Linked DNA regions of Homo sapiens: all the other regions are linked to region 5. The links are contacts of gene promoters, found by promoter capture Hi-C in human tissues and cell types (Jung and others, 2019). All regions are on one chromosome and are shown on one strand. The core of a region is centred on a gene start or on the middle of the fragment in contact, and the rest is flanking DNA. Distances in the headings are between cores, read along the strand shown. Region 1 overlaps LNCARSR (lncRNA regulator of Akt signaling associated with HCC and RCC). Region 2 has its middle 60 kb from the start of FOXB2. Region 3 overlaps GCNT1 (glucosaminyl (N-acetyl) transferase 1). Region 4 has its middle 3.8 kb from the start of LINC01507. Region 5 holds the start of PSAT1 (phosphoserine aminotransferase 1).

Region 1 (5,237 bases), core at 2,043-4,542, 1.3 Mb after region 5:
GTGGTCCTAAACTGCCTGGAATGAAAGGCTCAAGTCTGTGATGTATTTTCAAGGATGCAGCTCTTGTGGCCAAAGGTTCTGTGTGCTGCCAACAATCCAGCTGAAGCCTTCTCTGACTGCCTTACAAGGGCTGCTGCATAGTAACCTGGCCCCGGCCTGCCCCTTCAGGATACAACATCCCACGAGACCCCACTAACCCAGCAATGACCCTTGCCACTCTAACCTTTCTCCAAGCTCTCTGCTTCTGACCACAAGAACTAAACACTCCCATACTGTGCTCCACGAAGGCTCCAAACACTGGGACCGAGTCATAGCTAATTGGTTTTTTACAAGCCTAAAATAATCCAGACAGTTAAATATTGATGTTCATTTCTGGGTAGCTATAAACACAAAAGGGGTGAAAGAGCATGTTTTATGGCTTCCTCTCATTCATTCTTTACATGATAATGGTCTTTAGTCAATAAGCCCAGCTTTATAAAGAGGGGATTCATTTGAATTAAAAGGGATGTTCCAATGTGCTTTATGTCATTGTGACACAATGGTCCATCCACTTGGTGACATCTACCCTGTTCACCTAGCACACTCCTACTACACAAGTAATCATCCTAATAATGACAGTATCCTTTGGTTCCAATAAAACACCGTTACTATTACAATACAGATCATAGAATCACAATTTGCTATTTATGCATAATTGGTCTATCTCTCAAAGACATAGATAGTTGGTCTACTTCTCATAGACATTTGTGTTAAAGGTAACTTATATTTATGTATGTTCTCATGTTATCACTTTAGATTCTAGACTTCTCGAGGGCAGTGTCTTCATTACACATTCACTTATATTACTAATCAGATATTGATAGAAACTAGTTTCTTTCATTTTTCTATTAGTTGATAAACACCTAACTGGGCAGCAAGAAAAAAGAAACAGCTAAACTTATTTTAACACCCCAGGAAATTTCATCTTCTTCATTAATTTTGGCAGTTTTTCTACCTAACACTCAGCTTATTTTGGAAGAAATGCTCAGTCTTTCAGATTTGTGAGTTTGCTCCATGTTCTTCCCCAAGACATCTCCTGTGTCCATTTGAAGAGGCGGGGCTTGGGTGGCTCTGTGTAGTAGTTGGGAGACAGGGTCCTCAGAACAGCAGAGTCCACCCTGGATTCTCATGAGGTCTACTGCAGAAGACCCATGAGCTGGGAAACTAATGACCACAGAAGGTTGCTTTCTTTCCAGAAGGTTCTGCTGGGACCTGGTCCTAGAGCCTGGGACTAGTGTAGGTCATGGCCAGTTTTCTTTTTCAGCTTGATCTAGAGCTGGTCACCTCCCTGGTGACTTAGTCCCATGTTCACCCTTGCTGGTGCAGGACTCCCAGGAGATCCAGGCCCAGCCACTCTGCCAGGCAGTCCTCAATTGCTGCCCCTAACACAGTGACTGCCCTCCTCCTAGAAGGTTCTTACCTAACTCTCCTTGAGCTTTCCAGACCCTCCTTGGATATTCTAGAGTTCATTCATGCTATGGAGAAGCAGAAAATGATGGAGGAGGTCCACTTTCTACCTCACCCTGGGCGACATGTGGGTTTACTTTCATATGGCCTTCCTGGTTGCTGAGAGCAGTCTGTGAGGACAGAGTCCTAGATGGAAAGGAGCACAGACGCCACTCTCTTCCCCTTTCTCCTCAACCTAACACATTTCGTTGACTCTAAGATGCCATTGGTGTTGAGATATACCATTGTTCTATGTACTACTCCTACTACTAATAATATAACATAATAATAACCTAATAATAATGCCCAGAAAGCTGTGACACATCCTGATGCATCCTGATTTCAGATATGGAAAAGCGTGAAAAGATATTTATTAAATCAGTTAAATGATTTATGTTTCTGATATACATGTCTACCCAAGGAACATTGGCCCCAAGAGAAAAGATGGTAGCCTAACCACTACTATCCTTCCTCTCCTCCCACAACCCTCAGACCAAGAGGAATAAGTCTGGGGTTTTTCATTTCCTATCATTATATCCTTCTGCTATCCCAGGGTAGCAAGCTTCACTGCCTAGCTTCTCCTCTCCATGGAAGAAATCATTATCTAGTCACCCATGCCTAGCTCTATTTCTTTTGAGATGGAGTTTTGTTTTTGTTGCCCAGGCTGGAGTGCAATGGTGTGACCTGGGCTCACTGTAACCTCCGCCTCCTGAATTCAAGCAATTCTTCTATCTCAGCCTCCGGAGTAGCTGGGATCACAGGCACTCACCCCAAAACCTGGCTAATTTTTTGTATTTTTAGTAGAGACGGGGTTTCACCGTGTTGGCCAGGCTGGTCTCGAACTCCTGACCTAAGGTGATCCACCCGCCTCAGCCTCCCAAAGTGCTGGGATTACAGGCATGAGCCACCACTCCCAGCCTCATGCCTAGCTCTTGATGTCACAATATGATTATTCTGGAAAGTTATTTCTGTTTTGACAAAGCCTGGCTTTCAACAATAGGTTGACTTGTGACATAATCCCCTTTTGAATATCAAAAATTGAATATTAGGTCTTTTTTTCATTTTGAACCATATCTATAACAATCCAAAAATTCTCTGAGGCATGTTTTTCAGATGTCTCTGGCAGAATAGGGAAAAGTTCAGTTTGAGAAAATACAAAACAAAGTCAAAGCACATTAAAATATTACAAAAAAAAGTTATTCTGTTTCATTTTTATCTTCTCACAAGACCTACTGTGAAACAATGGACAAATTTGACATACAGCAAATTCTAGCTGAAAAACAAAGGATGAAAATATTTATATGTGTTTTTCTAGTTCTTTTTTGTGAGTACCTTTGAAAATATAATTTGTATCATTGACTTTCTTGTAATTTCTCACACAAAAAAAAGCTAAATTAGGTCTTGTTTTCAAGGAACTCACCAGGAATGATGACTTAGTACTTGATATCTTTGCTATTTCCAAATGAATAATATCTGTCCCACCAAAAATAACCCTGAAGCCTTATATACTTTGTATTTCTTTGTGTTGCAATCTTTGGATGAGGAGTGAACATTTGTTTCTTTTTGGTATTCTAGTAGTAACATCTCGTAGGCAAAAAAAGGTACAAATAAAAATTGTTATTATTATCTTGGTATGAATGTAACTTTTTTAGTATTAATTTGGGGCAGGCCAAAAGAGAAATTTCAGAAGCAGGACTTGTAATATAGAGGTTTTGTGCTGTTACTGAAACTTTTTCTTCCTGGCATTCTTTAAAAAGAAACTTTCCTGAGATGCCTGGTGAGGTAACACGAGTGGCTTCTCTGGCCAGGATTTAGCTGCCTCCCAGGAATAACTATCTCCTAAGGGCCTGGCTCCTTGGTAGCATGTGCTAAGACACTGAAGACGAAATCTAACTACAATTCTAAAGTATTTGGCAGGTCAATAGTTGATAGCGCTAGAAGTATTCAAAAGAAATCATAATATGATTGTGTTGACTTATAAAAGAGGTAGCTGAAAGAAGTGAAAAAAGTCTCAATCACGTGGCATTTCTTCTTCACCAAAGCTTCATTATTTCTCATATTTTCAGTGTTTTAATCGTAGAACTATAATTTAAAATATAATTTTTGGGAAACTAATATCTCTTTATGCATTTTGAGGTGTGATCTTGCCCATATCTGGACAAGATATGGGCAAGATATGGCAAGATATGGACAAGATCTTGCTCATATCTGGGCAAAATGTGTGTGTGTGTGTGTGTGTATGTGTGTAGCATCAAATCTCTAGTAAGCCCAGCTTTAATATGGAAGTCATAAAGAGGAGAAATGAGTGAATGTTGCTGAAATTTACTTTATAGATGTTGCTTTTGGAAACCGCTGGTGAGCTAACGTACTATCAGTTTTGCAAACTGATCTTTAGAATCCTATAATAAATAAAAAGTTTTAGTTATAAGATTGTCATATGTATTGGAGGAATTACTAGAAGGGGGACATTTCTTTTTATGATGACTATTAATGGCTTTCTCTAGTTGCAAGTATGATCCAATATTTCCTCACCCGTTTTTTCTTCTATTTGTAATAGGCCCTGTGCCTTACTCCAAGAAGTGTTTCTCACCAGCGATTAATAGGATGCAACACACAAAAAGGGCTGGTGAATCTGTTTGTTACACTCTACTTACTAAGGCTATGGCTACAATACTCCAGTGCTGAAGTCAGTGAAAAGGCATCATCCAAACACAATCCAAGGAAAATGCAAGCTGATACAGCACAAAGATGCTTTGTTTAAGAATGGCAGAAATTTCCAGCAACTATCTGGGAGAAAAAAAATGCAGGATGGGAGGGAATGTAATCAAATAACAAAACAAACCCAAACTAAAAGAGAATCTTTATAAACCAGCACAAGGACACTTTGTTTTTAAGTGCACACAATGAATTTTAAAGATCTTTGTTCAGAAGGGAAATAAAGTATTATGAAGGACTGACACATTTGATGGATGGATGGTTTCTGAAAAACCACATTATCAATTACTTTTTCCTTGTTTGGCTCCAGTCCAGTAATTTTTATTTGAACAAGCCACATGCTAGCATGGTTTTGATTGCAGGAAGTAACTGGTTGTTGTTAAAGGATACTATTTCACTGATGAGCTTATCTCTTCCTCCCCCCTGCCCTTTCTGATGGGAATCCGATATGAAAGGCACAGCTTCAGTTGTTATAAACAGAGTCAGGGATTGTTTGATAGACCCACCCGTGTTTTGCTTTCAGCATTCTGTGGTACAATCCAGACAATGTATTCAGCAGGGCTTCAGAAAACAAAAGTTGAATTCGGCTTATTTCTGTTCTCAACTCTGACATGAAATTTTGATATCTCTGATGTTTGTCTCTCATAAATCTAAGTTTGTTAGCAAAAAAAAAGTTATGAATATTATATTCTTTTTTATATTAGACTATCTCAAGTGAAGCCTACTGAGAAAAAAGAATCTTTATGGAACAGTGAAGCTAAAATGTATCAAAGATCTTCTCAAACAATATAGTGCCTTGTACTAGCTTTGCTTGTTTTCTAATCTTATCAAAACAAGTATATCAGAACATTATTAGTGTAAATATAAGAAATACAGCTAATTAAGCTATATTATTAAGTACTCTCAGTTTTCCCTTGCCCTTAAAGAAAGATTTGGGGGCAGTCATCAGTGGACAGGAAATTATCTATGAAATCAATTGCTGACACACACAGGGCTGTGTGTGTGTGTGTGTGTGTGCGCGTGTGTGTGTGTGTCTG
Region 2 (5,600 bases), core at 2,439-4,938, 1.2 Mb before region 5:
TGAGGCAGGAGAATTGCTTGAACCCAGGAGGCGGAGGTTGCAGTGAGCCAAGATCGCACCATTGCACTCCAGCCTGGGCGACAGAGCGAGACTCCGTCTCCAAAAAAAAAAAAAAAAAAATTGGGGGGTTATAATTTGGCACCATTAATATGAATTGTTCCACAACATGTTTTCATTTAATGACTTTATAATCCATTGATGATCCTTCCATTCACCATTCTTTCTTGTATTGATTGCCTTTTGTTCCTCTGTAAAGGGCTTTTGTGGTTATAATACCAGTTTGATAGGTTCCTATGTTTTCAACTCGAGGGCTTGATTTTTGTTGTAGGGTTTGCTTTTTTCTTTTTAATTAACTTAATTTTTTACAGACAATACACACAAAGTTCAGAGTTAAAAGTATGTGAAAAAGTATATACCTAAAAAAATTGAAATCAAGGACTTGAACAGATAGATATTTTTACCCCCATGTTTTAACTTCATTATTCACAATAGCCAAAAGGTCTATTGATGCAACCCAAGTGTCTTTTGGATGAATGGAGAAACAAAATGTGTTGTATATATACAATGGAATATCTATTCAGCTTCAAAAAGGAAGAAAATTCTGATACATGCTACAGCATGGATGAACTTGAGGACATTATGCTAAGTGAAATAAGCCAGACACAAAAAGACAAATACTGTATGCTTTCACCTATTTAAGGTACCTAAAGGAGTCAAATTAATAGGGAGAGAAAGAAGAATGGTAGTTGCCAGGGGCTGGGGAGAGGGAAGAATGAGAAGCTGTTTTTAACAGGTTTGCTTTGTAAGATGAAAAAAGTTTTAGAGATTGAATACACAACAATGTGAATGTACTTCACACTCCTGTACTGTACACTTAAAAATGACTAAAATGGTAAATTTTATGTTATGTGTATTTTATCACAATTAAACATAAACGTACATCCAGGTGTGGATCATGCCTATAATCCCAGCACTTTGGGAGGCCGAGGTGGGCGGACTGCCTGAGCTCAGGAGTCAGAGACCAGCCTGGCCAACATGGTGAAACCCTGTGTCTACTAAAAATACAAAAATCAGCTGGGTGTGGTGGCACGCACCTGTAATCCCAGCTACTTGGGAGGCTGAGGCAGGAGAATTGCTTGGACCTGGGAGGCAGAGGTTGTAGTGAGCTGAGATTGCACCACTGCACTCCAGCCTCAGCAATATAGCAAAACTCCATCTCAAAAAAAAGACAAAAAAAACAAAAAAAAAGATATTCTTAAAGAAATCTCACTTCCATCCCTTTCCCCTCAAGCTCCATAGGTTACTATTTTTATTATTTTCTGACATCTTTCTGGAGTTTCATTTTACAAGTTAAACAAGTATATATATGCATTCTTACCCCTTTCTTACACATAATATACACTAAAAGGTATAGATCCAAATTTATCTTTTCCCAAAAAGATTATAATAAAGTAAGTGGAGTCATAGCTTTATACGTTTATTTCTTATACAATTTTGTGTTTAGATCTCACACAATTTTTTGTTTCCTCTTATTGATGGAAATGGTGGAAGTTACACAAACCTTCTGCAGTAGAACTCCTGTGACTGTTGTTTACATTGTCACACAAATGGAGAAGATTGCTTCTGGTGCACCATGACACACATACACACACACACTCATACACACTCTCATACACACAAACTTTAGTTCTTGGTCTGATGAAGAAACTTGGTTTTAGATTTTGATAATAAATATCATCAGTTTCTAATTGACATTATTCTGTTTTTTAAAGTTTCTAAACCTCTTCTGCTTTTTATACCTCCTAATACCATTGATAATATAACCTCAAGAAAATGGCAGGATTTGCTCATTCAAAACTAATGCAGAGAACTCCCAAATACATGAACCAAAAATGGAACTGAAAGGAGAAATAGATAAATCCATAATTGTAGTTGGAGATTTTTCAACACCCATCCCTCACTTGTTGATAAAGTAGACAGAAAAATTATACAGAATCAGTTGAGACGGCACTAGAGAGGCAACCCTTATTAATGGTGACTGCTGTTTCTCTATCTAAATTCCAGTTGCTTTAACTACCAATTCTACTCCTTTCCTGATATCTGGCATAGTGTGTGCTTCAAGTGGCATTTCAGCTCCTGATAGGTTGAGAACTTGAGAAAATGATGTAATCGTCTCACAGGTTCTTCCTGCCCACTGCACAGACAAAAAACAATTCACTGAGACTGTGAAATAGATAGGCAACATCCTGATGGCAATAGATTGGCATCAGATAGGCAATACTCAAGGCAGGGTAATTCATATGATATACCAGCCATGGAGGATTTTTGAGGAAAAGGAATAAAAATTATATAGGTCTGGTTGCACCTTGACTAACCAGTCCAAAACTGTAAAGATTTTTGAAGATGAAAGTTGGAAAACTGTGAATATAAGCAGCGAAAGGGCAAGTTTCTTGACTATTTCTGCAGTAAAGAAAGAGTTCAGTTGACACTAGCCTAGCCATGTGGTAGACAGAGTTAGTACTCAAATCATTCTTCCCAAAGGCCTAGAGGTTTGGGTTTTTCAAGGATAGTTTGGTGTGCAGGGGAAGAGGGAATAAGTGCAGCTGATTGGTTGGGGACGCAATCATAGGGGTGTGGAAAACGGTCCTTGTGCGCTGTTTCCCTCTGGGTTGGGGGCCACAGGACTGGTTGAATCATGAGTCCAGGTGGGGTTAGTCTGAAAAACATCTCAAAAGACCAATCTTAGGTTCTACAATAGTGATGTTATCTACTGGAGCAATTGGAGAAGTCGCAAATCTTGTGACCTCTAGCCACATGATTCCTGAGCAGTAAGGGATTATAGAATCTTCACTTACGTTTTAGCAGAATTCAGGCTCTTCCCATGATCCTAATCTTGTGGCCTTTCATTAGTTTTACAAAGGCAGCTTCAGCCCCTGAAAAAGGAGGGGAGCAGTTTTAGGGAGGGGCTGTTATTATCCCTGTTTCAAAGTTAAATTACAAACTAAATTCCTCCCATCGTTAGCTTGGCCTACACCTAGGAATGAGTGAAGACAGCCAGCCTGTGAGGCTAGAAGCAAGATGGAGTCAGCCATGCTAGACTTTTCTGCCTGTCTTAATCTTTGCAAAGACAGTTTCAATGAGAGTGTGAAAGCTGCATTTCGGTAATCCAGGGTATGGAGAACATGTTAAACAGTTAGTCTTGCTGAGACATAGAATTTCTAAAAACTACCCTGATGGGAGAATGTTTCAAGTGAGCCCTCCCCTACCATCTCTACCACAATAAATTCAAGGACACTCAGGTATGGTGACCTTTCAGGGCCTCTCGAGGAATTACAGTCGTTCTCTCCCTGTTTCTCCTGAAAATCACAGCACAGTGGCCTCCAGAACCCCATCAGGAAATGAAAACCTTTGCCTTTAATTTTGCAGGAATTTCTACAGCAGCAGCCGGACAGGAAGAATGCACCATCATGGAAGATCTAACTCTGGGGATTGGGAAGACCAAATTTGCTCTCTAAATCACTCTGGTTCAAGTTCTTACGTCTCATAGTGGTTGCAATTAATTAGGAAATATGAAGAAGTCATGACCCATCTTCTTTCTGTGTTCCCACTGATTAGCAACGATCAAGCACCAGGCCTGGAAGAAATATTGTCAGACTGTGTTATGTTGGGTTGTTTTGTTTGGTTTGGTTTGGTTTGGTTTTGGTTTTCTGTTCTGAGTCAGAGTTTCGCTCTGTTGCCCAGGCTGGAGTGCAATGGTGCGATCTCAGCTCACCACAACCTACGCCTCCCGGGTTCAAGCGATTCTCCTACCTCAGCCTCCCAAGTAGTTGGGATTACAGGCATGCGCCACCATGCCTGGCTAATTTTGTATTTTTAGTAGAGACAGGGTTTCACCATGTTGGTCAGCGTGGTCTCGAACTCCCGACCTCAGGTGATCCGCCCACCTCGGCCTTCCAAAGTGCTGGGATGAGCACTGCACCCAGCCTCGTGTATGTTGGTTTATGAGTCACCCGGGAAAGAATGCCTGACCCATGGTTGTCATTTGGCAATGGGGCATGCAGGCAAACACCACAGCTCCATGGGACCCCACAAGAATTTATTACAAAGATTTACCTGAGGCCATCAGACAGGCAACACTCAAGGCACAGTAATTCATATGGTATACCAGCCACAGAGGATTTTTGAGGAAAAGGAATAAATATTATATAGGTCTGGTTGCACTTTGACTGACCAGTCCAAAACTGTAAAGATTTTGAAGATGAAAGTTGGAAAACTGTGAATATAAGCAGCAAAAGGGCAAGTTTCTTGACTATTTCTTAGACACAAGAGTATTTTACTGGTTTCTAGTATGTGACTTATACTCTGAATACTCATTGCAGACCATTTCTATAAGTTGTTTGTCCTAGCTTTCTAACTTTCTTTTTTTTTTTTTTTTTGAGACGGAGTATCGCTCTGTTGCCCAGGCTGGAGTGCAGTGACACGATCTCAGCTCACTGCAAGCTCTGCCTCCCGGGTCCACGCCATTCTCCTGCCTCAGCCTCCTGAGTAGCTGGGACTACAGGTGTCCACCACCACGCCCAGCTAATTTTTGGTATTTTTAGTGGAGACGGGGTTTCACCATGTTAGCTAGGATGGTCTCGATCTCCAGACCTCGTGATCCACCCACCTCAGCCTCCCAAAGTGCTGGGATTACAGGCGTGAGCCACCGCACCTGGCCTGAATGTCCTAACTTTCTTAAATGTCTTTGAAAGTATAAATCAGAAGGCTGACACATTTTTTTGTAACAGGATAAATAAATAATTGACCTCTATCATATTTAACCAAATAACCTGTAAGGTAAAGACATAAACATAAAATAGAGGAAATGTGTGGAGAGATAAAACTGGTGTTGGTAGGCCGGACGCAGTGGCTCATGCCTGTAATCCCAGCACTTTGGGAGGCTGAGGTGGGCGGATCACCTGAGGTCAGGAGTTCGAGACCAGCCTGGCCAACATGGTGAAACCCCATCTCTGCTAAAAATACAAAAATTAGCCGGGCACAGTGGCACATGCCTGTAGTCCCAGCTACTTGGGAGGCTGAGGCAGGAGAATCACTTGAACCTGGGAGGTGGAGGTCGCAGTGAGCCAAGGTCGTGCCACTGCACTCCAGCCTGGGTGACAGAGTGAGACTCGGTCTCAGAAAAAAAAAAAACAAAAAAACAATACAACAACAACAAAACTCATATCTCAGGAAAAGAGACTAAAGGTCTATACCCAGGACACCACATCCAGACAGACTTTTCACCTATCCTTCTGAGAGCTGCTACCTGAGAGAATTTATCTGCACATTAAGACAACCTTTGTTGGCAGTGCGGTTCCTCTCCTCACCCTCCTATAGTTTGTTGTCATCATCCCCTAGGAGCCCCCAGCTCCTATTTCTTTCTGTAGCTCAAAATGCTATTTAAGCTTCAACCCATCTGGCCTTCTTTGAGTCTCAAACTTTGTGGGAGCCCTGTGTGTATGCACATAATACATTTGTATCCCTTTTGTCCTGTTAATGTGTCTACTGTTGAGTTTATTTATTTATTTATTTATTTTGAAACAGAGTCTTGCTCTGTTGCC
Region 3 (5,072 bases), core at 1,627-4,126, 1.8 Mb before region 5:
TTTTAGGATTTTGGACTTTAATGTCAGCATAGTGGAAACCCACTTTTTGTTTGTTTGTTTGTTGCAGACAGGGTCTCACTCTGTTGCCCAGGTTGGAATGCAGTGGCACCATCTTGGCTCACTGCAACCTCCACCTCCCAGGCTCAGGTGATCCTCCCACCTCAGCCTCCTGAGTAGCTGGGACTACAGGCACACGCCACTATGCCTGAGTAATTTTTGTATTTTTAATGGAGATGGGGTTTTGCCATGTTGCCCAGGCTGGTCTCAAACTCCCGAGCTCAAGCGATCTGCCCACATTGGCCTCCCAGAGTGCTGGGATTACAGGTGTAAGCCACCATCCCTGGCCACTAAAGTGTTTTTGATTTGTGGTTGTTTTGTTTGTTGAAGACAGTGTCTCACTTTGTTGTCCAGGTTGGAGTGCAGTGGCTATTCACAGGTGAGATCATAGCACACTTCAGTTGAACTCCTAGGCTCAAGTGATCCTCCCACTTCAGCCTCTCAAGTAGTTGAGACTATAGGCATGGGCTACCATATCTGACTAGAAGTAGTTTTATTTTAAACCCATCAAGTCCTGAGTCCTTCATGTTTTCTCTAAATTCTACTTAAAAATTGAATATACTTCTTTAGTTCATCTCTCTCACATTTTCTCAAAGGCAGATACTGGGCCAGATAGCACTTCCTACATTCTTCTCAGAAATGTTCTTAGGCAGATCCCTGATATGGTGAAATATCCTCTCAATTTTCCTTGTTAGGGCAGGCAGTAGTGTTGCTCACATTCCTCCAGTTCATTTTCTCCAGTTTCCAATGAGATTTTTTTGTTTTTGAGACAGTCTTGCTATGTTGCTCGGGCTGGAGTGCAGTGGCTATTCACAGGAGCAATCATAGCACACTGCCATCAAACTCCTGGGCTCAAGTGATCCTCCTGCCTCAGCCTCCCTTGTAGCTGGGACTGCATAGGCCCTGCTGTGCCTGACTCTGATTTGAGTTTTTTTTTTTTTATTTTTTTTTAGACGGAGCCTTGCTCTGTCACCCAGACTGGAGTGCAATGGTGCAATCTCGGCTCACTGCAACCTCTGCCCCAAGTAGCTGGAATTAGATGTGCGTCACCACACCCAGATAATTTTTGTATTTTTAGTAGAGACGGGGTTTCAGCATATTGGCCAGGCTGGTCTTGAACTCCTGACCTCAAGTGATCCTCTCACCTCGGCCTCCCAAAGTCCTAGGATTACAGGTGTGAGCCACCGCACCTGGCCTAATTTGAGTTTGTAAAATGATCGCTGTTGCTGTGTAGAGAATAGTTTAGAGAGGTAGGTCCTGCTGGCACGTTTGGTGTCTTTGTGCAAACCCAAGAAAGGCTTCTATTCTGTGTGGACCAATTAGAAAAAATGCACCACTGTGTCCCAGCTAGGCCAGGTCAAAAGGCTTCAGCCCCCTGAGCCAGACTTGTTACGCAGGCACAGCCTGTGCAATCATGTGGCCACCCTGGGGAGGAGGAGGGTGGATGTGAACAAACAGTGCTTTTGCAGTCACCCAGTGATGGCGTAGCAGCACTGGATAACGCTTAATGACAGGTGAGGATTGAGATTGAGTGAGATTGGGTTTGTAGTTAAAATCAGCAAGAAGGTGGTGATTATTTGGATATGGTTGATGGAGAGGGAGGTAGCAAGGATGATTCAAAAGTTTCTGGCATAAACAACTGAGTAGGATGGGATGGTGGAACCATTATGGTGATTGAGAACACAGGAGGAGGAGCGGGTTGGCACGAGGTGTGGGAGGGAAGATAATGCCTTTTTGGATGTGTGTTTTGTTTGTGAGACATCCAAGTAAAGATGAGGAGTAGACAGTTGCTACTCCTGGAAGAGATCTGGGGTGGAGATACATGTTTGGGAGCTGTTGCATGTAAGTATTACTGCATAAAAAGCACTCATCCAAAGAGGGTGTAGAATGAGAAAAGAAAAGGGCTGGACCCGTAGAGTTTGATCACTGTATTTGGTAGAGGAAGAGAGGCCTGTTAAGGGTACTGAGAAGTGTGATATTCATGCAGGGCAGGGAGGAAATGAGGGGTCTATGATGTTTTGTTTTGTTTCAGATTGAGATGGAAGAAATTTAAACATGCTCTAATGCTACTGGGATTTTGTTTGTTTTGTTTTTGACAGGATCTCTCTCCATTGCCCAGGCTGGAGTGCAGTGGCACAATCTTAGCTCACTGCAACCTCCACCCTCTGGGGCTCATGCCATCCTCTCACCTCAGCCTTCAAGTAGCACCAAGGGTGTACAGCACTACGCCTGGCTAATTTTTGTATTCTTTTTCTAGAGACGGGTCTCACCATCTGTGTTGTCCAGGCTGGTCTCAAATTCCTGAGCTGAGGCAATCTGCCCACCTTGGCTTCCCAAAGTGTGGGATTATAGGCATGAGCCACTGTGTCTGGCCACTACTGGGAATTTTCTGGTAGAGAGGAAGAGCCTAAAGATGCAGGAGGGTAAAATAAATGATAGGACCAGTTTTCAGAGAGGGTGAGAACACAGTGCAGAATTTGGTCTTTGATGGAAGGACGGAGGGAGAGGATGGATAAAGATGCTTTAGATTTTGGGTCCAGAATCGTGAGGACTTTTTCTGAAGGAAGTGGCAAAACCATTGGCTGAGTTTGGGGTGTGTCTGTGTGTGCAGTCAGATATTTCTTCAGCCAGCATTTAGTAAGCATTTTCTAGTGCCAAGCTTTGTGTTTGGCTCCCTGGAAAGTGTTATGAATGATGATTACCTTGAAGCTTGGCCCTGTACACCTGAAATAGCCTTGCACCACTTTTTCTACAAATTGCTTCCTACCTTTGACCTTACAGGCTTGTTAACTAAAGGCAGTAAATGCTCAGCTGATCTTTTTTTTTTTTCTTTGAGATGGAGTCTTGCTCTGTTGCCCAGGCTGGAGTGCAGTGGCACGATCTCAGCTCACTGCAACCTACGCCTCCCAGGTTCAAGCGATTCTCCTGCCTCAGCCTCCCAAGTATCTGGGACTACAGGCACCCGCCACCGCGCCCAGCTAATTTTTTGTATTTTTAGTAGAGATGGGGTTTCACCGTGTTAGCCAGGATGGTCTCAATCTCCTGACCTAGTGATCCACCCGCCTTGGCCTCCCAAAGTGCTGGGATTACAGGCGTGAGCCACCTCACCCAGCCTCAGCTGATCTTTTGATGGGCATCAAAGCCACTAGGGGTGACAGTCCTGGAGGGGAAGGACCTTTTCAAGCCCCTTCCACATCATGCAGGTTCATGTTCCATGTCATGGTTCTCGGTGTTGGCTATACATTAGGAACACCTGTGGAACTTTTAAAAAAACCTGACACCCAGGTCAAACTCTATATCAATTCCATCAAATCTCTGGTAGGGGGACTCGTTATTGGTCCTTTTTGAAAGCTCCCTGGTGGTTGCAGTGTACAAACCAGATTGAGAGCTACTTGCCTGTTGAGTGGCCCTGAGTCCAGTTAAAGCCACTCTTCTGTGTTGAGCTCCAGCCCCTGCTGCCTGGAGTTTACTGCATTTGTCAGTTGTGTGGAACAGAAAATAAGGCTGAGACCAATTGTGTAGGACAGAAAACGAGGTTGAGATTATATTGGTATCCAAAGCAGGAAGCGAAGGACAGTCCTTTGGGGGTGTTGAAAGGAAGTGTAAGAACCTCTATTTATAATTTTATAAGCATTTAAGGTCAAGAATGCCAGTGGTCCCTCTTTCAGTGTTTTTTTTTTTTTTTTTTTTTTTTTTTTTGAGACAGTCTTGCTCTGTCGCCCAGGCTGGAGTACAGTGGCACAATCTCAGGTCACTGTAACCTCCACCTCCCAGGTTCAAGCAATTGTCCTGCCTCAGCCTTCTGAGTAGCTGGGATTACAGGCACATGCCACCATGCCTGGCTAATTAGTAAATACAGGGTCTCACCATGTTGACCAGGCTGGTTTCGAACTCCTTAACCTCAGGTGATCCGCCTGCCTGGGCCTCCCGAAGTGCTGGGATTACGGGCGTGAGTCACCGCGCGCCGACCCTCCTTCAGTCCTGTGTCTTGTACGGTGAATGTGGTTTCTAAGGTGGATAAGGAGGCAGGGATTCCTTGCCTAGCTGGAGCCCTGCTCACCTGGCCATCAAGCATACTGTGAGATGTTGCAAGTTAGGAGCTATAGAGTGTCATCGAGTTGTTTAATTTTAGAAACACAAAGGCTTTAAATTAGAGCATCTCAGGTTAGACTTGTCCCTGAGCGGGTGATAGGTGTACTGAGATACTGCATTTCTCTCAGCCCTCTCCCTTAAGCCAAGAGAGCTGAAGCTGATGTTTGATGGTTACCTTTTGGTATATATGTCATGGCATGAGAAAGAATCACTGCTTTAGTCTGTAGAAGCTTTGTCGTCCTTTGCCATGCCCTGGGGAGGGAGCAGGACCATCCTTTGCACCCATCAGAGCATTCCTAGTTCTTTTGTTGCCAGATACGTAAGAGTGGTTGAGTTTACAGGTGTCTGCATCTCTCTTTAGCAGAAAGATGGGGTTTCAAATGTGTTGCCTCTTTCCAATTTTGCTATGCCTATCAGTAGTCAGATATTTTGGGGAGAAGGGAAAAATCCAAGGTAAATGTGAGGTTCTTACAGTGAATTACTTTTCAAAAGAAATTTCTGCTACCAAGGGGCATTTGGGAAGTGGCTGTGTGGAGAAGTTTTCATTGTAATGCGAACATATTGCCAAAAAATATTGTACATTTGTGAGTTATCAAAGCTCTCAAAGGAAAAAAAATTAAAAACTGGGAAACAGAATTGTCATACTACTTTAATTGAAAAGTAACAATGAGTTTTTAATCCATTTGTTAACTTTATGGGGCACCTGCAGACTATTTTGATTAGTCTTTACAATTGATTGAAACCCACTGGGCAAATTTCGCCAAAAAACTATGTGATTGGTGGATAGAGGAAACTAAGTGTCAAGATTTAGGTAGCAGAGCCAAGAGTGCACTACTATAATTGAAGTAATAAGTTTTATTGCATCCTCCAAGTTTTTGAATTATGATACATGTAATTTATTAGTACAATAGTGAGAGACAGGA
Region 4 (5,301 bases), core at 2,487-4,986, 1.5 Mb after region 5:
ATGAATTTATCATTTTCTTGCTTATTTTTCATTATTGTCTGGGGCTTTGTGAACAATAAAATGTGCCCTCAGCAGGCACTGACATATTGGAGTGATCAGAATCATAGGTTATGTTGATTCAAAGAAGGAAAGGGAAAAAAAGACGAGATTGACATTGCTGCAGGTCAAAAGCCCTTGGAAATGTTGGATTGATTTGTTTAGACGTTGTTTGATTTCTCTCTCTCTTTTTCTTTCTCTAGCTCTTTTTTTCCCCTCAAGTAGAGGGATAGGAAAAAGAACAGAGAAGGGTAATCTTTTTTATTTTAGGCCAGTTGAAGGAGAGAAACAGAAGCATATGGCTTGGCAGAAATTTTTATTTTTATTTATTTGATTTATAAGGACAGGCGAGAAATGCTTCTTGCAAAGGGCTTCTTTTATCAAAAGGACTTGCAGGCTGAAAGTAAATGACTACATACCTGCACTGCTTTTTAAACCAGGGTTAGCAAACCACATCTAGCTGGAGTAAAGCTGACTGGCTGCTCTCCATAGTAGGAAAAAAAAAAACAAAACAAAAACAACCCACTTTGGTTTATTAGTGTTTTACTCTGACATAATTTCATTTACAACAACATTTGAGAGACAAAAGAAAGGAAATGTGAATATTCAGAGCAGTTTTTGTTCTATCCTTAGAGCTCAATTCTACAATCCTTCCATCCCCCATTTTGCCACTAAAGGTAGAGTTCTTGCCAGCCAGACATCCCAGGAAAACCAAGCAGCACCAAGCCCAGCTAACGGGACCATGTTGAATTCTAATGCAGTTGGTTCAGTTGGTCCTTCTTCAGGTCAGAAAATTGCTTTAGGCAAATGCGCTGGTCTGGCGGACTGGGAACACTTTGGAGGTTTAAGTTTTTAGCACCATGTGGGGGTGATTACAAACTCTGAACTCAATGAGTGACTGAGTAGCCTTACTTCTGTGAATTTCTCATGTAATATTTTAATTCTGGTGCTCCAATTCCATTCTAGTATGTAACATGCTTGAGTTTTTAAGACTCCTCTTTCTTTCTTATAAGTATACCAGCATAGAATACCTCTTCTAACATACAAGACTGTAATGAATATGAAATAAGGTCATCTATTTCCAGATATGTTGTTCCTAAGAAGAAAGGTGTTATCTAAATTCTAAATAGTGCCATGATTATATTTTTATAATAATAACCTTACATTTTAATATAATAATCTTACATTTTAATATTGAGGGACAAAAAATTCACATGACCCAGTGAGCTGTACTTACTTGGACTATGAACCAGAGATGCACTTAAAATTTATATCTTGGCCAGGCACGGTGGCTCACGCCTGCAATCCCAGCACTTTTTGAGGCCAAGGGGGGCAGATCACCTGAGGTCAGGAGTTCAAGACCATCCTGGCCAACATGGTGGAACCCCATCTCTACTGAAAACACAAAAATTAGCCTGACTTGGTGGCGGGCTTCTGTAGTCCCAGCTACTTGGGAGGCTGAGGCAGGAGAATTGCTTGACCCTGAGACGTCGAGGTTGAAATAAGCTGAGATTGCACCATTGCACTCCAGCCTGGGCAACACAGTGAGACTCCATCTCAAAAAAAAAAAATTATTTTTCAGCAAGTTCCTTGGGTATTACATTAATGTTTATATAAATTAAATTTCTTTTTCATAACAGCACCCGTTCATTAGGTGAGAGTTGATGTCTAAGGAAGAAATAAATAACAGCCTGGTGGGACAGGCAGGAAATGCAGGACGAGGAGTGTAATGTTGGTACTTCAGTTTTCTCATAATTGATAGGACAAAAGTGAGACATCAAAAAATTTTTTCTTTTAATTACAGGAAAAAAAGCCTGCACAGAGACGTTAGACAACTGCTTTCAGATCTGATCAACTGTAATCTAATTTTTCTTTTCTTTCTTCCTCTTGAGCCAAGGGGGTTTTGTTTTTTGTTTTTAAAATATTGAAGTAGTTTGAAAGATGGGAAGGCAGTTGTGCTAAATTTTCTATTATTAGCATGGAAGTGATAACAGCTTTCTTACCCCTTGGGAGAAGAGGTGGCAGTTGGAAGCCGAGGAATGCTCAGTGCTGTGTCGGCACACTTTTCACCAAAACAAAAAACGGAGTAAGAATATCTGCCTGTAATAAAATAATGAGTCTGTTACTTTTCCTCAGTATGAAGTGAGCGTTAAATATACACATATTATTAGGCAAAAGAGAGCACCACGAAATCAGTGGAGTTTTAAACCCTCCCTCTCCTGTCCGGTGGACACCAGGACTGCTTGGCTGCAACCCTCTGTCTTCTCAAGGCTCTAAGGGCAAGCAGCACCATCTCCCCAGTGTGTTTTTCACTAGTTGCTTGCTTTGGGATCTTGATTTCTTTGCTAGAGTCTTTTTATTTTGGCCTGGCAAAATCCTTCACTAAGCTACAGAATGCAGAGAGTGCATACCAGGGGTGAGTTGCCAACATAAGGCTTAGTCAGTAAGGTGCAGGAGGAGGCATTTGATACACATTTCCCTCCTCTTCACCAAACACCTGGGCAGCACTCTGCAAGAATTGTATTCTATTTACGGTCATCTTGCTTATGATGAAAATTATATGTTTCATCCCAAGCAACAATGAAAAAATTACTTTGAAACCTCTCACTGGCACTTCTAATGAACACAATAAATAGAAGAATATGCTCATCAAAAATTGTTCTCCTTTTCTCCATGATAAACCCAATAAATATTTCATTAGAAGAAGGGTTTAGCTTCTCATGTGAATTGTGAAATCTCTTGGGTTATATTAAGGCTGTAAATGTAGTTCAAAGCAGCTCAGAGTCTCGCTTTAGGGGATGGGTGCTTTTTATTTTTTATCCTTTCCCTAGAGGGTCTGATTAGCCCAGAGCTCATTTGGTGCAATAATGGAACAGGAAATTTTCTACGAGCGACTGCAACAGAGTTCCAGTTGAGAGTTTGCTACCTTGGGAGAATCAGGTCATTCTCATATCTGCTGGGGAAACGCATGCTCCCCAAGAGAAAGGAATTGGAAAAATAAATTCTTCTGACAAGTGGAGAACTTCTGCTGCAGAATGTTTCTGAACCTTGCCAGAGGGGGAGATTTTGTCTTCCTGATCTGATTGCCCTAGCATTTTCCCCTCTTCCTTTAAAATTTTGTGTTTTTATTTTATTTATTTTGTTTTAACATAAGATAACTGAAAGGTCTAAATGCTCTAATGTGCATTCTTCTAATGTGAAGCGCTCATCATTTCAGTTCTGAACACCGATTTCTGTCACTTTGGCCAACACGAAGGAAGAGGCACACTTCTTTTCCTCACTGACACCTCTGATGACATGATACACAAATGATGGACTATGTAATAATTTAACCATGCCTGATCTTTCTGCCTGGGGCACTTGCAGTACTTAAAGCCTCAGTGGGTCTTTATTTTTTATATCACTCAAATAGAGAAACCATGGTATGTAAAATTCACCTATTTTTAAATCTTTAACATGGAGATTTCATTTTTTTTCTTATTGCTGACCAACTATCCCCATAAGCGAAAGTGGTAGAGTTCTAGTTAGAAGGAGATTCCACAAATATTTTAATTATCATTTTTTCCTTCGTTAATGTCTGGGGTTTTCGTATGAGCTCTCTCCTTTATCTGGGCACTGTGCAGAGGAGAAATTGCGTGTCCTTCAATCTTCAGGGTGATCCGTTGGTTTTGTCACTTTGATTATTTTCTTTCCCAAGTACTACACAGCATATGTTTTCTGCTGGATTCAGCTAAATTCATTCCCCTCTGGTTCACTGTGTTGCAGATGATGTGATGTACCAGGGATCTTGCTTGAAGCCAGTGCTAGATTTCTTAAGAGCACTTGAGCACCTCTTGAATGACATAGGAATTCCTCTGACACAACTGACATGGTGATTCTTTTAGGACAAGGACATGCCATTTTTTTTCTTCTTCTTCTTTCCTGGTGTATCCAGGCAGGATTTAATATAGAGATGGATGAGTAGACAGAAAGGAAGATGAGGTAGGTCTTACAGATCTGTCTTTTAAATTAACAAAAGCCACAAAAATATTAAGAATTAAGCTACATTTGAAGAGGCCTCAGGAGAAATCTGTTAGTCTCCAAGACCCAATGGCATTTAAATACACTCAAGACAAAGCCATGAAGTGTCAAATTGGTCATGAACTTCATCACAAAGTGTGGAAACCAAGAGGATGAAAAAACAGGAAGGCCTTAACCAATTTAGATGTTGTCAAAGAGCATTCTTAGAAGCCCTGTCTGAAAGATGTTAGTTTTGCCTAATGCCGATTATCACCTAATTCCAACTGAGATTGAATTTCAGACTGTGAGTAGTAAAGGTGAGAGGAGGAGTGGAGACTGGTGGTCAGCGGAGTTGAGAGGTGGGAGCTCTGGCCACTGGGAAACAGATGTTGCAATTTTTAATGGGTTGGTCAATGTCATTGACAAGATGGCATTTGATTAAGGCCTTGAAGGAGAGGATCAAGTCAGCCTTATAGAAACTTCGGAATGGAGACAAATCAAGTCAAAGGCCCTGAGGTAAGGGTGTACCTGGTTGAGTTTGAAGAAAACTGAGGAGGTCAAATTTCATGGAATGTTGCTGTAAAGGGGAAATAGAGGATAATATGGGGGTAAGGAGGGGTTCTTTTTAAGACACTTGACACTGATGGGCATGACCCAGTACAGAGGAAGAAATTCTTGATGTAGGGAGAGTGATGGGAGAGGAGAAGTTTCAGGAGTCGGGTTTACGTAAGAGAGAGGAGATGGAATCTAGGATGCATGTGAAGTGTTGGCTTTAGGGAGAAGCTTAGACAGTTCAGCTATAGCAGCAGGAGGGAAGGACAAACATATGGACACTGTTTCCAGTAAGGAAGGAGATTTGGGGTCAGGAGCTTGGGAAGCTCTTTTCTGATGTGTGTGTGTGTGTGTGTGTGTGCGTGTGCGTGAGTGCAAGTTAAGTCATCAATGGAGAGTAAGGATGGAAAATATGTGTTGGAGGTTTGAGAAGAAAGAAAAAGTCAAGAAATAATCATCTAGGGCAGTGGTTATCAATGTGTGGTCCAGATTAGCAGGGTCAGCATCATCTGGGAACTTGTTTGAAATGCAGTTTCTTTTTTTTTTTTTTTTTTTGAGATGGAGTCTCGCTCTATCACCCAGGCTGGAGTGCAGTGGCGCGATCTCGGCTCACTGCAAACTCCGCCTCCTGGGTTCATGCCGTTCTCCTACCTCAGCCTCCCGAGTAGCTGGGACTACAGGTGCCCACCACCGCGCTCGGCTAATTTTTTTGTA
Region 5 (5,201 bases), core at 865-3,364:
ATGAAGCCGGTTTGAGCAGCCACTTCCTGCCATCAACCCTATCCCATGGATGGGGGAATCATAAATGTGCAGTGGCCGCGTGCACCTGTGCCACAAATGGACAGGTGAACTCAATTTGCCACAGTTCCCACTACTTGTTTCATATCCCTGAGTGGCCCCTGGAGGCATTTGAGTTTGTGGCTCTGGTTTAAGGTGTTTGTGGGCACAGTGTGAGGAAGAAACATGGAAAAGACAGATTTTCTCTAGACTGAAAAGGAGATTGCCCAGGGGCGGGAGGAAGACAAACAGAGGTCAGTGGGTCCTGAGGCTGACTGTATGTGTGACTTGTGTCCCTGAAATACCATCTTGGAAACTGCAGGACCCCCGGGAGGAATGGCTGCAGGGGATGTCTTAGCAGATGAGACAATAGCCACCGCCACCCCACCCCAAATTCCTGTGCCCCTAGTGGGATACAGAAGTAGTAGGTTGCTCATCAACCCAAGCAGCCACATCAGCTTGGGCAGTGGAAACAACTCAGCCATATCTTTTGGGAACAGAGGACCAAATGGATGTGCTGTCCCTTCTCCCAACCCACTACATGGGACTGTGTATAGCCCTGGTGTTAGGAACTAACTCCAGGAAGGATGAAGGCTGACTCCCTTAGTCTCCAGTAGATAAGCTGCTAGGGGCAGCTACTAATATATAATAACTGAGTTATTTACGTAAAATAATGGATATGTGATGCTTCTTGCATGCCTGAGTTTCTGGGCTGAGATTTATTCTGTCTTGAATGTCGCGGTTTTCTTAATGAAGTTGCTGAGGAACGCAGGGGCCTTGTTCATTTTGCCTTTTTCTGGAAACTTTGTCCTCCAATTCCCAGATCCAGAGCAGTGCCTCTGCTCTCAGCCCCATACCGCCCACATTCTCATTAGGAAAAGCAAACAAAAGCCAAAGTCCTGTCCAGTTACAAGCCTTCTCTAAACGGGGCAGTTGGACTGTATATATTCCTGGCGCATCAATTTTACTCAGACAGGGAAAATATTTTTACATTAAAAGAAACTAGGTTAAATTATGGTAGAGAATGCAAAATTCACAGTTTAAAAATGATGAAATTCCAGACTTCAAAGGAACTTCTTTCTTGCAGGGTAGGGGGAGGGTATTCTGTTTCAGAACCCCATGCGGGTCTCCACTGGAGTTCTTTTGAGAAGGACACTTCTGTGGAAAAGTTTGAGCAGCTCTGGCCCTGCGCCTGGCCTGGCTAGGGGCCACCTTCTTCTGGTTTGGGCTGCAGCGCCCTATGGGTATCGCGTTCTTGTTAATATCTCCTCACGTTTCTAAACTCACAGCTTGTCAGCGCGGGCGCAACCTGAGAGCTGTCGCAGGTTTCCAGCTCACTCGTTTCCCAAAGGAGGAAATGGAGAATCAGCGACTTTAAAGGACTTGCCTGGCGGGCATCCACGCTTCCCAGGCTATCGCTCCTCCCTGCGTCCTTGGCCACCTCCGTTCTTTAATCCTGCAGGAACTCAGGACCCACGTGCAAATACAAAGAACCGTATCCACCCACCCCCGGCCCTTCTTCATCCTGCGCTTCCAACCTTGGGGGGGTCCTCTCTCTCCACTGGGGTATCTGACGCCCGTGGGGGGTGCTTAGAAAAGTTTGGTAGATTAGTGACTGGTGGTTCTGGAACAAATACATCACAGCCCAAACTGGGGGCTGGTGGTGGAGAGGTGGGTGGATGGGGGCTACAAATCTGCTCGGCAACTGCCCTTTCAGCCAAGAGAGAGGAGCTGAGGTCCTCTGGGGTTGGAGGACTGGAACCGGCCAGATTGCGGGCTCAAGGGGCGAAGGCAGGTTGGCAGGGGCAGCCTCTTCCCGCCGCCCACAATCCTCGGGCGGGCGCGCAGCCGAGCCGGCTCGGCTGGCTGGCGCAATCTCGCGCGCTCCTTGCATTGATCAAAAATGGGGGTTGAAACAGTAAACGCGAGGAGGAGCAACTGCTTCGACTCGGCTCAGAAGCGCGACCAATGGGGATGTGAGCTCCTTCGCGCGAACCAATTAGCGCAGGGCCTGCGACAGCACGGGCCAATGGGGCGCCGACTCGGCGCAGGAACAAGGCGGGGGTTCGGGGCCGGCTGCAGACTCTCACCGCAGCGGCCAGGAACGCCAGCCGTTCACGCGTTCGGTCCTCCTTGGCTGACTCACCGCCCTGGCCGCCGCACCATGGACGCCCCCAGGCAGGTGGTCAACTTTGGGCCTGGTCCCGCCAAGCTGCCGCACTCAGTAAGTCCCCGCGAGCGGGCGCCGGGAGTGAGGTTCAGGCGGGAGCACGCACGCGGGTGGGTTTGCATCCCTGCGTGTGGCAGTCGGATTCCCGCTCCCTGCCTTGAGTCCCCTAGGCGCTTTGCATCAGCGTGCACAGCGGGATCAGCAGCTCCGGCAAGCGGGCTTCGGGAAGAATGCAGTTGGTGAGGAAGCTCGGCGAGGCGTGCCCGTGCAGCTGCCCCTGGCCCTGACTGCTGGTGCGAGGCAGTGCACGACTCAGCTGGCCGGGGCCTGCTGTCCCGCCGGTGCCACGCACCTGCAGACGCCCGGGCTGTGCCATCTCCTGGGCCGGTCCGGGGGCTGGGGCGGGGCGAAAAAGAAAAAGCTCTGATCTCTGCCTTCGCCTCGCGCAGCTGTGCGGCGAGCCCGGGCAGTGTGGAGCGGATGCATGAATGGACATAGTGTGAATGAGTGATGAACGGGAATGAACCGATGACAGGTTTTGCATATGCAGTGGATCACGTTAGCTGAAAGGGATTGCAAACTTAAAGGTCCGCGTGTGCGTGCCCCCCTACGCCTTACACCAGTGTTTGCTTTAGCCAGCACTTAGGAACACTGCTTTTCAGAAATGTAAATTTGAAAACCTTCAGTCCAGCTTTCCCCTCCTTGTCCCCCATAGAACCTACCCTTTCCTAAAGCCTTTCTCCCCACCCCCCTCCTTTTTTTAACCTGCTTGTCCCCTAAAGGCGTTCGAGTATTCTAACTCTGGTAGACTTTGGGCTGCTTAACCCAATTCCCTGTTCATTTCGTTCTGGAGTAAACCGAGTGATTGAATTCTCTCCCGGGCCACAATCAGATCTTGCTGGTGGAACTCACTCTCTGCCTTCCCAGGCCCCAGCCCGGCTCCTCCCCTCCCCCGCCAAACCCACCGTCCCCAGCCCCACCCGCAGTGAAGAAGGCAAAGTCTCCGATGTGCCTTGAGCCCATTGTCAGGCGGCTGCCGCCGCCGTTAGATTTTTATTTTTCTAACCAGGATAGAGCTGATAATATGTTGGAGCAGCATGAGGCATAGCCAAGTATTTTACAATTATCAATTGTTGAGCAGAGTAGAAATCTCCCTGGGACAGAGCCTCCTCTGTGTTGTGGTAAGAACAGAGAATCCAATTTTAAAGGGGAAAGGACTTCTTACTTTTCTAGGGGCAGCGCTCACAGTAGCTGAGAGGACAGGGCTTATTTTTTCTCAGTGGTTACAGTTCATTTTAGGCGAGATTCCCTGCTCCAGCTGTGGAGATGTTTCCTGTAGCCTCCTCCTGCACCCCCCATGTTTTGGAGTGTTCCCAACGTTTGTTCCCTATGTATTTCGTTATTAATTTATTACTATAATTGTAATGGCAATTGTCATCAGTAATACAATTATTTGTTATTAATTTTTCTGGGAGGATTTTTGCCCTTGGACTGCATGTAACCTGGGGGGCAGGAGGGTGAGGGGGCAGGCAGATGTTGCTTTTTATGTATTTCCTTGATTTAGTTGAATTGTAAATATTAGAGAAGCTTTCAAACTTCTTTTGACTGTAACCTACAGTGAAAAACATGTTTACAAAATGACAAAGTATACACATTCAATTGTAACAAAAATAAATGCCTTATGAAATGATGTGTAGCCTAATTACCTGTGACATACACTATTTTGTATTCTATCCTGCTCTAGTCTGTTCTGTTTCATTAAAAAAATTAGTCGTGAGCTGGGTGTGGTGGCGCACGCCTGTAATCCAAGCAACTCAGGAGGCTAAGGTGGGAGGATCTCTTGAGCCCAGGAGTTTGAGGCTGTAGTGAACTGTGATTGTCCCACTGCATTCCAGGCTGGGTGATAGAGCAAGACCCTGTCTCTTAACAAAAAAAAAAAAAAAAAAAAAAAAAAAATTGGTTATGATCCACAAAAGCAATGCATTCTTCAACTGGAAAAAAAAAAACCTACTGGATTAGGGAGGTGTGATTTTTCAGTAGGAGTCTTTAAAACTGTTTGTAATTATTTTGGTTATAAACTTTTATAGAACTATTTTCAATGAATGCTGTCTATAAGAAAGATACAGTCTCAGGAGCAAGTTCAAAGATTATTCACAGATGAATGTTTCTCTTTACTAAAAGAAAAGATTCACTCTATTTTATTTGATCAGCTGGTGCTAACAAGCATCCAACATTTCAGAAAACAATAACACATTCTTAGACCCAGTCGTCAAGGCAGTCTTTTTTTTAATCTAATTCTTTTTTTTTTTTTTTTTTGAGAGAAGTCAAGCTCTGTCACGAGGCTGGAGTGCAGTCGCTTGGTCTCGGCTCACTGAAACCTCCGCCTCCCGGGTTCCAGCGATTCTTCTGCCTCCGCCTCCTGAGTAACTGGGATTACAGGCACCCACCACCAAGCCCAGCTAATTTTTGTATTTTTAGTAGAGACGGGGTTTCACCATGTTGGCCAAGATGGTCTCAATCTCTTGACCTCATGATCTGCCCGCCTTGGCCTCCCAAAGTGCTGGGATTACAGGCGTGAGCCACCACGCCCGGCCTTGTCTAATTCTTTATTGTTAAAATACTGTTTTTTGAGACAAGTTGCAATCCAGTTTAGGTTATAGCTGTGTTTTAATGATGCCCTCCTTAGCAAGCATCTTAAAAAAAAAGGTGCCTCCTATCTGTAGACCTTCTCTGGCTGGTTGCTTTTGCACTTATTTTGTGTTCATTTTTAAAGCTTTTCTTTTTCTCTTTATTTTTTATTAAGGGAATCCTCACATACACAAAGATAAAAGTAGTGTAATGAACCTCCAAGGACCCATCTCTGAGACTCAACAATTATCAACATTGTGCCAGTCTTGTTGCAGCACCCTGGGACGAATCTTATTCACAGCAGGCTCTTCCTTCTTCCTGCCCACCCCACGCTTCCCAGTCTAGCACCTTAGACCAAAAGAGATCG

What was found. The method cuts DNA at HindIII sites, captures the fragments that hold promoters and counts their contacts. A contact is called where the count stands out against the background at its distance.
Region 1: a contact is called between a fragment that was not itself captured here and the fragment with the promoter of PSAT1 in region 5, in 1 of the 25 tissues and cell types used here (dorsolateral prefrontal cortex).
Region 2: a fragment that was not itself captured here is called in contact with the fragment with the promoter of PSAT1 in region 5 in 2 of the 25 tissues and cell types used here (H1 embryonic stem cells and spleen).
Region 3: a fragment that was not itself captured here is called in contact with the fragment with the promoter of PSAT1 in region 5 in 1 of the 25 tissues and cell types used here (sigmoid colon).
Region 4: a fragment that was not itself captured here is called in contact with the fragment with the promoter of PSAT1 in region 5 in 1 of the 25 tissues and cell types used here (heart left ventricle).

The regions. Positions count from the first base shown.
Region 1 is chr9:79,555,395-79,560,631 of GRCh38, forward strand. All of the region lies in intron 1 of LNCARSR (lncRNA regulator of Akt signaling associated with HCC and RCC), which reads right to left. Among named protein-coding and RNA genes, the nearest start is that of LNCARSR, 9.9 kb to the right of the region's middle. The HindIII fragment of the contact is 4,637 bases long and covers 975-5,237 here.
Region 2 is chr9:77,077,102-77,082,701 of GRCh38, forward strand. No RefSeq gene overlaps it. Among named protein-coding and RNA genes, the nearest start is that of FOXB2, 60 kb to the left of the region's middle. RefSeq lists an enhancer at 2,918-4,117. The HindIII fragment of the contact is 5,140 bases long and covers 1,119-5,600 here.
Region 3 is chr9:76,464,171-76,469,242 of GRCh38, forward strand. All of the region lies in intron 2 of GCNT1 (glucosaminyl (N-acetyl) transferase 1), which reads left to right. Among named protein-coding and RNA genes, the nearest start is that of GCNT1, 7.5 kb to the left of the region's middle. The HindIII fragment of the contact is 4,539 bases long and covers 608-5,072 here.
Region 4 is chr9:79,818,079-79,823,379 of GRCh38, forward strand. No RefSeq gene overlaps it. Among named protein-coding and RNA genes, the nearest start is that of LINC01507, 3.8 kb to the right of the region's middle. The HindIII fragment of the contact is 3,223 bases long and covers 2,126-5,301 here.
Region 5 is chr9:78,295,011-78,300,211 of GRCh38, forward strand. It overlaps PSAT1 (phosphoserine aminotransferase 1), which reads left to right and starts at 2,115. Exons shown (of 9, transcript NM_058179.4): 1 at 2,115-2,260. The coding sequence starts at 2,201. RefSeq lists enhancers at 1,201-1,470, 1,361-1,944, 1,945-2,528 and a silencer at 2,481-2,720. The HindIII fragment of the contact is 7,295 bases long and covers 1-4,386 here.